2 separate regions of the Homo sapiens genome follow, and region 2 is linked to region 1. The links are contacts of gene promoters, found by promoter capture Hi-C in blood cells and fetal thymus (Javierre and others, 2016). All regions are on one chromosome and are shown on one strand. The core of a region is centred on a gene start or on the middle of the fragment in contact, and the rest is flanking DNA. Distances in the headings are between cores, read along the strand shown. Region 1 holds the start of STYX (serine/threonine/tyrosine interacting protein). Region 2 overlaps NEMF (nuclear export mediator factor).

Region 1 (7,202 bases), core at 3,065-5,564:
AGGGTGGGGCCAGTCACCAGAAAGACCATGTGACAAGAGGGTTGAACTCTCAGCCTCACACACACACACACCTCTATGGGAGGGGATGGAGATGAAGTTCTATAAAAACCGTTGAATAAGATTTGTTGAGCTTCTGGATGAAAACACTGGAGGTGCTAGTGAGGCAGGTGAATAGGGTCTGGAGGCAGGGAATCTAAGGCTGTTTCACCCCGACTTCCCAGAACTAACTTGAAGGGAAAACCCTAACTTTCCACGCCTAAGTAACAAAAGGACCAGAGGCTACTCCCGTTGCAAACCACCTACCTTTTCTGCACAGTAGACGGGAAATTGGCTGTCCTCAACAAATCAGACTGACTGCGGGTGGAATCTTCGTTTGCAACTTTGTAACTTCACTCTAGCCACTGAATGGTCGCTGTCCACAACCAAGCGGACTGATGTGGGGGTGGGTCTGGCAACCAATCAGACCAATTGCAAGCCACCTCTTCATTTACATGAGGTGAGCATGGAATGGCCAATGGGAAAGTTCTAGGGGGTATTTGGACCCAAGAAGATTCGGTAAAGCAGCGGGGGTCGGGGGGGAGTGCTGCTAGGGCAGCTCCCACACTGTGGAGTGTACTTTTGTTTTCAATAAATCCCTGCTTTTGTTCTTTTGTTGCTTCATTCTTTCTTTGCTTGGAGTTTTGTCCAATTCTTTGTTCAAAACGCCAAGAACCTGGACAGCTTGCAATCATGACTCTACTGGTGACACTGGGATGGTGGTGTGCCCCTTCCCCCATACCTTGCCCTATTCATCTCTTCCTACTGGCTGTTCACTGATCTTTTGTAGTATCCTTTATAATAAACCCGTAAATGTACTTCCCTGAGTCCTGTAAGTCACTCTAGCAAGTTAACTGAACCAAGGAGGGAGTAACGGGAACCCTGATTTACAGTCAGTCAGGAGTGTATAGGTGACAACCTACTACTTGTGATTACCATCTGAGGTTGGGGGCAGCCTTGCGGGACTGAGCCATTAACCTGTGGGATCTGACTAACTTCAGGTACATATGTGTCAGAATTGAATTATGGGACATTCAGTTCATGCCTGCTGGAAAACTGCTTGGTATGGAAAAACCCCCACACATCTGGTAGCATAAAAAAAAGAGTGTGTTTTCAAGTCCCACACAGAAAAGACAGGTATATATTCCCAGCAAGAATTTATCAGTTTTGCAGGAATAAGGCATACATAATGATATACACAGTAACAGATTAAATGCAAAGTCCGGGAAAATTTTAAACTAGAATTTTTAAGATTAGGGCAGGGAAGAATTGAAGTGTATTAAAAAGAACAATGAATTAGGAGGCCGAGGTCCTTCTGTGTCTTGTGCTACTGTGTTGTTAATTTGGCACATCACTTATTTTCAGTAAGGTACAATTTCTTCACCTGGAATGTGGGACTCCTCTACATTATTTGTAAGGTTGCTTGCAGTTAAGTGCTGAAATTACTGAATCATTTTGAGGATATGAAAGCATACTCCTTCGCGGTGGCTCAAGCCTGTAATCCCAGCACTTTGGGAGGCCGAGGCAGGCGGATCACTTGAGGTCTGGCGTTCCAGACCAGCAGGGCCAACATGGTGAAACCCCGTCTCTACTAAAAGTACAAAAATTAGACGGGAGTGGTGGCGGGCGCCTGTAATCCCAGCTACTCAGGCGGCTGAGGCAGGAGAATCTTTTGAACGTGGGAGGCGGAGGTTGCAGTGAGCGGAGATCACGCCACTGCATTCCAGCCTGGGCAACAAGAGTGAAACTCCGTCTCAAAAAAATAAATAAATAAATAAAAGCATACTCTTCATTCACATTATTGTATGTTAAGTATAAATTCATTTTTATAACTAGCCTAAATATGACCTCCTGTTTTCTAAGAGTATATTGGCCGGGCGCGGTAGCTCACGCCTGTAATCCCTGCACTTTGGGAGGCCAAGCCAGGCGGATCACAAGGTCAGGAGTTTGAGACCATCCTGGCCAACATGGTGAAACCCCGTCTCTACTAAAAATACAAAAAAATTAGCCCGGTGTGGTAGCGGGTGCCTGCAGTCCCAGCTACTCGGGAGGCTGAGGCGGGAGAATGGCGTGAACACGGGAGGCAGAGCTTGCAGTGAGCCCAGATCGCACCACTGCAAGATCATTCCAGCCTGGGCGACAGAGTGAGACTCTGTCTCAAAAAAAAAAAAAAAAAAGCTGGGCCTGGCGGTGCGCGCCTGTAATCCCCAGCTACTCAGGAGGCTTAGGCAGGAGAACTGTTTGAACCGGGACCCGAGGCAGAGGCTGCGGTGGGCTGAGACAGCGCCACTGCACTCCAGCCTGGGGCAACAAGAGTGAAACTCTGTGTCAAAAAAAAAAAAAAAAAAAAAACCATGAGTATATTCTTGGGCCAGGTGCAGTGGCTCACACCTGTAATCCCAACACTTTCGGAGGACAAGGCGGGAGGATCTTGAGGCCAAGAGTTCGAGACCAGCCTGGAGAAAAAACCCATCGCTACAAAAAAAAAAAAAAAGAAAAATTAGCCCGGCATGGTCCCAGCTACTCCAGAGGCTGAGGTGAAAGGATGGCTTGAGCATGGGAGTTCGAGACTGCAGTGAACCGAGATCACACCACTGCACTACATTTTGCAACAGTGATAGTCACAAACAAAGTCTCTACTCTTAAAACAAATGTAATTGTCAAGCATCAATACCACAAGAGAGCCCTCCAAACAAAAATGTGAACCTAGGCCGGGCGCGGTGGCTCATACCTGCAATTTCAGCACTTTGGGAGGCCGAGTCGGGCGGATCACAAGGTCAGGAGATCGAGACCACCCTGGCCAAAATGGTGAAACCCGTCTCCCCTAAAAACACAAAAATTAGCTGGGCGTGGTGGTGCGCGCCTGTAGTTCCAGCTACTCAGGAGGCTGAGGCAGGAGAATCGCTTGAACCCGGAAGGCGGAGGTTGCAGTGAGCCGAGATCGCGCCACATTGCACTCCAGCCTGGCGACAGAGCAAGACTCCGTCTCAAAAAAAAAAAAAAAAAAAAAGTGAACCTCCAATGAAGATATTCAATAGAATAAATATTCGGAATAAATTGAATGGTCTCCTAAAAATAGGGCTTTATTTTTCCCAACTACTTTAAAGGTATTTTTAACTAGCGATGTTAGATTTTCTTTCTTAATCCTACTAAAGTATAGCTGAGTATCTTCGTCTTGTTAATTTAGCCTCCAGAAAATTCTAATTTAGTAGTCTGCAATGCCGTAAAATGTTAAACTAGCAACAGATGAAAAAAAATCCGAGTAGAAACAGCAGGCAGGGATCTAAGGTGGAGTAAAAATAGCCACAAATTAGAAACCAGGAGAAAAGGTATATAGTATTTTACTTTCAATATTAATTTTCCTCCAAAGGTCAAGATTTCTGATTAAGAGTTCTCAGATTAAGATGAGCTAGCTTTGAGACACTTTGTTGTGCGGGTCATAGCTTTGTCTAAAAACAAACAAAAAACTTTGGGAAACTTTTCGAAGGCGCGCTTCCAAACTTCAGGCGCCGAGTCTATTTCACATGTGGGGCCATGTGTCCCACAAGTGAATCGTTTACACCACAGATATTCCTCAAAAGGAGACTAAACCAACTTCGCTCTCTTGTTACTTTGACAATAAAAGAGGAACCTTACTCCAGGTCAGTCCTGGATGCCAAGCCTAGGGACTAAGGGATTGCTTTTCCTCTTCTCAAATGTAAGTACACCAGACGCTGCCCCTCCGCGGGGTCTGGAGAGGACGAGCAACTCAGTGGGGATTGGAGCCGACCGCTCGGCTTCAGAGGTCCCGGGACGCCCTTAGGAGGCAGGGCGCCCGTACAGGTGGCGGCTAAGACGGTTGGGGACTGGGGTCGCCCCTCGGCCGGAGCCACAGGGAGAGGCCTGTGCGTGGCAGCCACGGGAGCGACTCACCTCGGCGTCTTCCTTGCACTGTGGAAGGGAAGGGAACTCCAGCTTCACGTCCTCCATGGTGCTGGCCCGCGGGCTGGTGGGTGGGGTGGGAGAGTGTTACACAGCCGGCCGACCCTCGGGCTGGCTGCGGCGGCGGAAGGAAGGAGGGCCGGCGGAGCGGAGGGCTGACAGGAGGGCGGCGGGATTACAACTAACACACGCAGACTACAGGGTCCCAGTGACTCCAGCAGCGGCGGCGGCGAAGACAGGGAAGAGGAGGGTCGGGCGTCTTACACCCGGCCGCCATGCCGCTGCCGTCTCCCTCCCCCAGAGTCTCCGTACCCCTCAGGCCGCCCAGGATCCAGCACAGGAACCAGCCCGACAACCGTCTCCCCGCCTCCTTCCCGCCCCCTCCACCCGCGTCGCCTCAGCCAATCCCAGCCCACGCTCGCCTTCTGCCCGCCCTCCGCCGCCGCCAGGTGTCAGCGCGCCACCGCCCTGCTCCGCCCCTTCGCTAGAGCGCAGACGCTTGGGGGTGGGGGGGGCGGAGCCTCGGATGCTGCTAGGCCACAGCTCACCCGGCGTGGAGGAGGCGGGGCTGCGGTGGGACAGGACGAGTGAAGGTCCTGGGAAAGGCAGTGGGGCGGTCCGAGCCAGCTCCGCCCTTTCCAGACAGGACGTAGAGCCCTTCTTTAACATAAGAACAAACAGGCAAAACAGGCTACCCACCAGTGGCATCCGAAAGGAAAGCTATAGTTTCTCCCCTCTCAAAATTCTGCGCAATCTATGCTGAGTTTATAACCAAATGACTAATAAATGAAGAGTTCAATTTAAAATCACGTGGTGCCATACAGAAAATAAAATACCCATCACCTTTAAGCAAAGAATTAAACGGCTCAATTTAAAATTTTTTAAAGTATTTTAAGAGTACTTGAAAATACAACTCAGTTTAGATTACCTAGAAAATATCAAGAATGGCAACTAGAAAAAAATCAGAAAAAGGAACTGATAGCTGACTCAGTAAATTGTATATAATACTGTAAAATTTCTTCCATTATTATATTTTGAAATAAAAATAATAAACCAGATGGCTTTCAATATCTTTTAAAAGGAGTTTGCCAGCCTGAGCAAAATAGTAAGACCCCCCTCTCTAAAAAACAATTTTAAAATTCCCTGGGTGTGGTGGCGTTATGCCTGTAAACCCATGGTGAAAAGATTTGGGCCGGGCGCGGAGGCTCACGCCTGTAATCCCAGCACTTTGGGCGGCTGAGGCGTGTGGATCACCTGAGGTCGGGAGTTTGAGACCAGCCTGACCAACATGGAGAAACCCCGTCTCTACTAAAAATACAAAAATTAGCTGGGTGTGGTGGCGCATGCCAGTAATCGCAGCTACTTAGAAGGCTGAGGCAGGAGAACCGCTTAAATCCGGGAGGCGGAGGTTGCAATGAGCTGAGATAGTGCAATGGCACTACAGCCTGGGCAACAAGAGCGAAACTCCATCTCAAAAAAAATCAAAAATAAAAAAAGAAAGAAAGGATTTGTACACCAAATTGATTCTTTAAAAAACCACCGCCAGCACAAAGGTAAAAGGCAAGATAGTCACTCCTTAACTAAATGCAAATTATAAGTGAAAAGATCACATAGATATTTGACTTAAACCTCCCCCTACATTCTACTTTTTGTCACATAAAATGCACTGCCAACACATAGAAATAGAACTGTACAATAATTTGAGTATGAGATGGCTAACTTGACCACTCCATTTTCTATTTTAACTGTTCATCTTCTAAAATTATAAAAAGGCACATAATATCCTGCTAGGAAGTTTTTAATTTGAAGAATTATTGTATAATTAGCTAGGTCATGTATTTTTGGTTCTTTAGTGTTTATGAAACTGAAGTTGTCTTTTCTTTTCACCAGCATCTTTAATAATTATTGATGCCCAATGATGATTCCTTTGTGTACTTTGTTATAGCTTTTATTGCCAGATGATATAAGAATCATGTATAGGTAACAGAAATCATGTTTTGAACATTTCTGACACTCCTACATCCCCTACATCATACACTCTTAGCCAGGTATCCATACATACCTAAAGAGTCCTTGGATGAGCTTGGGAAACAATAAATTTCCTGAAATTATAGTATACGCAAAATTGTATGTTAGAATTTTTCCTGGAAGAGGGTCCAGACCTCCACATCCTCAACAGGGACCTATCGTCTTACATAAACCAAGAAAACCCAGTCACATATTAGCAAATATTACGTTGAATCATACTCTTTAAAAAGTTATGGATGTGCATGTATATTTTCAATTAACCAACAATGAGCTTAATCACAGTAGATGAAGAATATGTAAACACTTTCTGAAAGGAGGAGTACAGACATACCCACACATCCATGTTTTATTTAAGAAGATGATCTTATGAACATTAAGTATGTGTACTATTTTAAAATAATATTCAAAAATCCACAATCCATCTGGGTTATCAAATAGTTTACTTGCTAAAGAACCTAAAGGACCACAGTAAATATACTCAGAAAAGACAAGAATATATATGTAGGAGAACTGAATCAAACAGATTTTATTCAACTTTTTAGATGAGGAAAACAAATGATACAAAATAAGTCATAAGAAATGCTTTCTTATACCACTATCTCAAACCACTTTCAATATTTTACAAAATGCTCACGCAGCAAATATGAAAAGCTTCAACACTTTCCCTTTGTAACTTGCTGCAATAAATGCAACTTTAACAAACATACAAATTTCTTCTGTATCTTAAAAGTTGAATTACTAATTTTTATGATGTTACTCATATTTTTATTCATATACTTTTAATGACATCATTACCAATACATACATTATTTTCTTTAACTTTATTTTTACAATAAGCCAACATCTGTCATGCAGCCATCAAAAATCTTACAGTAAATTACACAGGTTTGTAGTCCAATTTAGACTCCAGCTTCTTAGAATCAGCCACTTTTCTGACTGCTTTCATGAAGTCTTCCTGTACTACAAAATCATGATCAGCACGAATTGCGAACATACCTGTAGAGAATAAAACAACATGACTGCTATATATCACATATGAATTATATGTTCATTATAAGAAAAACAATATAATTCTATGGAATAAATGTGAAGCTTAGATTTATTACTTCTGAGCCAGTAGTTGTAATTTGCTAAAAACCACTATCTTTTTTCAATTAAAATCCACAGGCCGGGTGCGGTGGCTCACGCCTGTAATCCCAACACTTTGGGAGGCCAAG
Region 2 (7,202 bases), core at 1,472-3,971, 2.9 Mb after region 1:
TTCATTAGAGGCTTTACAGAGAAGAGCTTTACCCCCCAGCAATTTAGAGTCTGTTTTGGATTACAAATTAGGTAAGTGTTTCCATATCACAAGGGCTTTCACAAAATTCTCAGATTATTAAAGTTTAATTTATTTAATAGTAACCCAAAATAGTTCTTTTGGGGCCTGTCCTTAATAATAATGACAATAATAATGCTACCTGTTGTGTAGCACTTTTTAAGGCAGATGAATAATATGTATTTCATTTAAGTTGTTTAGCAACTCAGTGGACTGTGAAGAACAAATACAATTTCAGTTTTATGGATGAGGTAACAGGCCAATGAAATAGGACACTGGGATTGTGTAAACATCTCCAAATCAGACTACACTAATAGGTCAGTCACTTTAAAAAATACTTAGAATTCTATGGGTTAGGTGTACGTGTCAATCTAAATGTATAGAAAGATTTCCTCAATGGAGCAGACAATGTTAAGCACTTTATAAATCAAAGAGCTGTTACTGTTGCATGGCACAGGCAGAGTTATGTCTATTATGTGATAAATCACAGTGGTTGTTCCAGTATTCACATTTGGGGATGACAGCTATAGCTTTGTGGCACACAGCAGCAGGTTGATTTCACCAAGCTGTTGATAGGGAAATGAAACAAGCTTTAAATATGTACTATGTGTCCATCTGTACTCTCCATGATAAATAATCCCCTTTTTACTATTCCTTTGTGTGAACTTCTGTCCTTTCAATGATGCCTTTTGTCTTTATTTTTCTTGAATAAAATTATTACTCAGGGACTCTGGAAGAACTGATTGTGATTTTCCTCTAGGGATTTAAAGATAGCCCTACATGTAGGTTACTGTTTAATCAAATCAGTATAGGTCATTCTTAAAACTACTGAGTTAAGGAGGAGCAGATTGTTTATCCTAGGAAGTTATTCTGCCTATGTGAGTATATAAAATGCGAATTTCAGTCAATTTGGGCTATAAGGTCTGGAGAAGAACTCTTCTTAGTTATGAAAATGTTAGCATTAATTTTAATAATGAATTTATGTGTTTATTGTTGTTTTTTTTCAACCTTTGTCAAGGAGTGGATTTTTTGTCTTTTTTTTGAAGGTGGTCTTAGATTAACTTCTGTAAAATTTGTTTCGTATTTAAGTCTTTTTTTTTTTTTTTTTTTTTGAGACGGAGTCTTGCTCTGTCACCAGGCTGGAGGGCAGTGGCGCAGTCTTGGCTCACTGCAACTTCAGTCTCCTGGGTTCAAGTGATTCTCGTGTCTCAGCCTCCCAAGTAGCTGGGATTACAGGCACACGCCACCATGCCTGGCTAATTTTTGTATTTTTAGTAGAGATGGGGTTTCACCATGTTGGCCAGGCTGGTCTTGAACTCCTGACGTTGTGATCCGCCTGCCTCGGCCTCCCAGAGTGCTGGGATTACAGGCGTGAGCTGCCATACCCAGACCGTATTTGAGTCTTGAAGAAAGCATTCTTTCTTATTGGTCTTAACTAAAGGGTCTTTTATATTAAAAAATTAGAAACAATTGTAAGATATTTTAGAGGCTACAGAGTAGTCTTGTTACCAGTCCATGTCATACTTCAATATTTGTACAAAAAGACGGTACATGTAATCTAAAAGAGTAGGTATTGCCAAGTAAATTGTATTTGGATTTGATATACTAATATTATTTTAATTGTTAATAAGAAAAAGAACCTTATGGCCAGGGATAGGAGGAAGGGGATTTAATAAAGAATGAGAGTTATTACATTGGATTGAAATAGGTTATCAAAAGCTTAGAGACGATACCAGGAAAATTCTCTTTGGGTTATATTAGTAAAGTTTGTAGGAATAAGCTGGGCACAGTGGCAGGGCACTTGTAATCCTAGCTACTTGGGAGGCTAAGGTGGGAGATTGCTTGAGTCCAGGAGTTTGAGCCTTGCCTGGGCAACAGAGAGACTCTGTCCCTTTCTTTTTTTTTTTTTTTTTTGAGACAGAGTCTTGCTCTGTTGCCCAGGCTGGATTGCAGTAGTGTCATCTCGGCTCACTGTAACCTCCGCCTCTTGGGTTCAAGCGATTCTTTTGCCTCAGCCTCCTGAGTAGCTGGGATTACAGGCATGCGCCAGCACGCCCAGCTAATTTTTGTATTTTTAGTAGAGATGGGGTTTCACCATATTGGCCAGGCTGGTCTTGAACTCCTGACCTCAAGTGATCCACCTACCTCGGCCTCCCAAAGTGTTGGGATTACAGGCCTGAGCCACCGCTCCTGGCAAAGACTCTCTTAAAGAAAAAAAAAAAAAAAAAAAAAAAAAAAAGAATTGGTAGGGGTAACTGGATATAAGGTGGTGGACTATTTACAGGATACCATAAGCCATAAGCTCATGGTCCATAGTTGATATGTATTAGAAGTAGAAGATTAGTGGAAACAATTAATTAATTTTGAACATAAATGAAGCATACAAAAGGGAAATTTGGCATACTTAGAAGTGTCATCAAAGAGACTTAAAAAAAATAAAGGGACTGGGTGTGGTGGCTCACGCCTGTAATCCTAACACTTTGGGAGGCCGAGGTGGGCAGATTGCCTGAGCTCAGGAGTTCGAGACCAGCCTGGGCAACGTGGAGAAACCCCGTCTCTACTAAAATACAAAAAATTAGCCAGGCGTGGTAGTGGGCGCCTGTAGTCCCAGCTACTCTTGGGAGGGTGAGGCAGGAGGATTGCTTGAACCTGGGAGGCAGAAGTTGCAGTGAGCCAAGATTGTGCTACTGTACTCCAGCCTGGGTGACAAAGTGAGACTCCGTCTCCAAATAAATAAATAAATAAATAAATAAGTAAAGGTTGGCTGGGCACAGTGGCTCATGCCTGTAATCCCAGCACTTTGGGAGGCTGAGGTGGGCGGATCACGAGGTCAGAACTTCGAGACCAGCCTGACCAACATGGTGAAACCCCGTCTCTACTAAAAATAGAAAAATTAGCCGGGTGTGGTGGCACACGCCTGTAATTTCAGCTACTCAGGAGGCTGAGGCAGGAGAATCACTTGAACCTGGGAGGCGGAGGTTGCAGTGAGCTGAGACTGTGCCACTGCATTCCAGTCTGGGCGACAGAGCGAGACTCTCTCTCAAAATAAAGTAAATAAATAAAGGTTGTGGCTTATGAGTGAGGTCATTAGGACCACAACAAGGAATTTAGCAGTGGTATAAAGCAACAAAGCAAATTTTGCTATAGGTCCATCATTCTCTACTTAAAAATTGAAAATAAAAGCCTGGCTCAGTAGCTTACGCTTGTAATCCCAGCACTTTGGGAGGCCAAGGCAGGAGGATTGCTTGTGCCCAGGAGTTTGAGATTAGCCTGGGCAACATAGTGAGACCCTGTCTCTACAAATAATGAAAAAATTAGCTGGGGATAGTGGCATGTGCCTGTGGTCCCAATCCTCAGGAGGCTGATGCAGGAGGATCACCTGAGCCAGGGAAGTCGAGGCTGCAGCGAGCCATGATCACACCACTGGGCTCCAGTTTGGGTGACAGAGTGAGACCCTGTCTTAAAAAAATGCAAATAAAACACTGTTTCAGAGTTAGTGTTTATAATAAAATGTTTTCCCTCTGATTATCATCTGCAATCTATTACTTTATGACTATACTGTTATTCACAACGTTTTAAATATTCCTGATGATAATGAAAAGAAGCTTATTTATAAACCAATACCAAATGGTTAGGAATTCACTTTTACTAAATGAATGCCTTTTTCTTTCTCTTGCTAGTGCCGAAAACATTTGAAGAGTCGGAGATTAGTCAGTGCAAAACAGCTTGGTGTGGATAGAATTGTAGATTTTCAATTTGGAAGTGATGAAGCTGCTTACCATTTAATCATTGAGCTCTATGATAGGGTAAGTTAAATTTGTGGGATATGGTGAAGGAAAATTTCTTATTAATCATTTTGTAATAGTGCTATATAACATGAGTGGGGGAACATTTTTTTTCTGTGTCAAAGGTTGTTACTACCCTAGGAAATGGGTGCCACACAAATAAAATAAAATTTTCCAGTAATAACCTTCATTTTATCTGTAGGTCTGAGTTTAGGCAGACTTTAGCCATTTAGAATAGCCTTATGAATGTAGGAGATGAAGATCTGAGAAGTAAATTATTTGGTACTTGACATTTCAGGACTAATATGCAACCAGAAAATAGTCAAATACGGTCATGCACTGATGCGCTGTATGTATAGTGATGTTTCAGTCAACAACAGACTGCATATAAACGTTGGTCCTGTAACATTGTAATGGATCTAATAAATTCTTACTGCTTAGTGACATCTTGATCCTGACTCTGTGTAGGCCTAGGCTGGTGTGTGAGTTTGTGTGTTAGTTTTTAACAAAAACATTAAAAGTAAAAACAAAACAATTTAAAATGGAAAAAAAGCTTAGAGAATATGGATCTAAAGAAAGAAAGTATTGTACAGCTGTACGATATGTGTTTTAAGCTAAGTGTTATTACAAGAGTCAAAAAGCTAAAAAGTTTAAAGTTTATAAAGTAAAAAAGTTCCAGGAAGCAAAGGTTAATTTATTATTGAAGAAAGAAAAACATCTTAAAAATAAATTTGGCTGAGCGCAATGACTCAGGCCGGGCACAGTGGCTCACACCTGTAATCCTAGCATTTTGGGAGGCCGAGGAGGGCGGATCACCTGGGGTCAGATCACCTGGGGTCAGGAGTTCAAGACCAGCCTGGCCAACATGGCAAAACCCCGTCTCTATTAAAAAATACAAAAATTAGCTGGGCGTGGTGGCGGGCACCTATAATCCCAGCTACTCGGGAGGCTGAGGCAGGAGAATCACTTGAACCTGGGAGGCAGAGGTTCCAGTGAGCTCAGATTGTGTCACTGTGCTCCAGCCTGGGCAACGGAGCAAGACTTTGTCTCAAAAATAAACTAACTAACTAACTAACTAACTAACTTAATCTGGGCCAGGTGTGGTGGCTCACACCTGTAATCCCAGCACTTTGGGAGGCCAAGGCGAGTGGATCACCTGAGGTCAGGAGTTTGAGACCAGCCTGCCCAATGTGGCAAAACTGCATCTCTACTAAAAATACAAAAATTAGCCTGGTGTGGTGGTGCGTGCCTGTAGTCCCAGCTACTCGGGAGGCTGAGGCAGGAGAATCACTTGAACCTGGGAGGCAGTGGTTGCAGTGAGCTGAGATCATGCCATTGTACTCCAGCTCAGGTGACAGAGTGAGATTCAGTCTCAAAAAGGAAAAAAAAAATATATGTGTGTGTGTGTGTGTGTGTGTGTGTGCGCGCGCGTGCGCGTGCGTGTGTATGTATATAAATAAATAAATACATAAATTTAATCTGGTCTGAGGTAAGCATAATTTTTTTAAAAATTAAAAAATAAAAAACAAATTTAGTGTAGCCCAAGTGTGCAGTATTTATCAAGTCTACAGTAGTATGCAGTAATGTCCCAGGCCTTCACATTTACTCACTGTCACTCACCCAGAGCAGTTTTCAGTCCTGCATGCTCCATTCATGGTAAGTGCCCTATACAGGTGTTCCATTTTTAATCTTTTATACCAGGGATCTTCAACCCCTGTGCCGCAGACTGGAACTGGTCTGTGGAACCAGGCCACACGGCAGGAGGTGAGCAGTATGCGAGTGAGCATTACTCACCTGAGCTCTGCCTCCTGTCAGATCAGTGGTGGCATTAGATTCTTATAGGAGCGTGAACCCTATTGTGAACTGTGCATGCAAGGGATCTAGGTTGCATGCTTCTTGCGAGAATCTAATGCCTGATGATCTGAGGTGGAACAGTTTCATCCGGAAACCATACCCCTGCACCCCCCATCCATGGAAAAATTGTCTTCCATGAAACTGGTCCCTGGTGCCAAAGGCTGGGGACTGCGGTTTTTTTTTTGTTTTGTTTTGGTTTTTTTTTTTTGATACAGAGTCTCACTTTGTTGCCCAGGCTGCAGTGCAAGGGTGTGATCTCAGCTCACTGCAACCTCTGCCTCCCGGGTTCAAGCAATCCTAGTGCCTCAGCCTCCTGAGTAGCTGGTATTACTGGCATGTACTACCATGCCCAGCTAATTTTTGTATTTTTAGTAGAGATGGGGTTTCACCATATTGGCCAGACTGTTCTCAAACTCCTGACCTCAGGTGATCTGCTCGCCTTGGCCTCCCAAAATGCTGGGATCACAGGCATGAGCCACTGCGCCCGGCCTGGAACTGTTGTTGTAATACCATATTTTTACTGTACTTTTTCTATATTTAGATGTACTTAGATACACAAATACTTGCTATTGTATTACAGTTGACTACAGTATTCAGTAACATGCTATACAGATTCCTAGCCTAGGAGCAATAGGTTATATCATATCTTTGGTGGATGTATTAGGCTACACCGTCTAGGTTTGTGTAAGTATACTCTATTACGTTCACACGACATCGAAGTTGCCTAAATGCATTTCTTAGAATGTATCCCCATTGTTAAGCAATGCATGACATTGGGTCTGCCTTCTTTTATGCAATATTTTTTATTTTTTTGAGATAGAGTCTTGCTCTGTTGGCCAGGCTGGAATTCAGTGGCATGATCAGGGCTTACTGCAAACTCGGCCTCCTGGGCTCAAGTGACCCTCTTGCCTTAGCCTTTCATGTAGCTGGTACCACAGATGTGCACCACCATGCCTGGCCAATTTTTTTATTTTTTGTAGAGACAGACTCTCACTTCGTTGCCCAGGCTGACCTTGGACCCCTGGCTCAAGCAATCTTCCCATCTCAACCTCCTAAGGTGTTGGGATTACGGGGGTGAGCCACCACGCCTGGCTCTTTTATTCAATATATAATGTCTGTGAGATTCATTGATGTTGAAAATTCCCTTAGCTCCACATCCTTAGCAACATTTGATATGATCTCTTAGAGCTCTTTATCTAATCTGATTATGAGCCCTTTGCTGATTATTTGTGTAGTAAATGTCCTTTTCTACTCTAACCTGAGTTTTTACTCTTTCTTTTTTTTTATTTTTTAATTTTTTTTGAGAATAAGTCTCACCCTGTCGCCAGGCTGGAGTGCAGTGGTGTGATCTTGGCTCACTGCAACCTCCGCCTCCCGGGTTCAAGCGATTCTCCTGCCTTAGCCTCCCGAGTAGCTGGGATTACAGGCACCTGCCACCACGCCCAGCTAGTTTTTGTACTCTTAGTAAAACAGGGATTCACCATGTTGGCCAGTCTGGTCTTGAAC

What was found. Contacts are between HindIII fragments. The CHiCAGO score rates a contact against its expected background, and 5 or more counts as called.
Region 2: a contact is called between a fragment that was not itself captured here and the fragment with the promoter of STYX in region 1, in 1 of 17 cell types (naive CD8 T cells). The highest score is 5.8, in naive CD8 T cells.

The regions. Positions count from the first base shown.
Region 1 is chr14:52,727,278-52,734,479 of GRCh38, reverse strand. It overlaps STYX (serine/threonine/tyrosine interacting protein), which reads right to left and starts at 4,314. Exons shown (of 11, transcript NM_145251.4): 1 at 3,949-4,314. The coding sequence starts at 4,005. PSMC6 (proteasome 26S subunit, ATPase 6) reads right to left here. Exons shown (of 14, transcript NM_002806.5): 14 at 5,890-6,981. The coding sequence ends at 6,863. RefSeq lists an enhancer at 275-569 and silencers at 4,020-4,099, 4,170-4,629. The HindIII fragment of the contact is 7,384 bases long and covers 1-6,638 here.
Region 2 is chr14:49,842,801-49,850,002 of GRCh38, reverse strand. NEMF (nuclear export mediator factor) reads left to right here. Exons shown (of 33, transcript NM_004713.6): 4 at 3,738-3,863. Among named protein-coding and RNA genes, the nearest start is that of NEMF, 6.4 kb to the left of the region's middle. The HindIII fragment of the contact is 1,886 bases long and covers 1,779-3,664 here.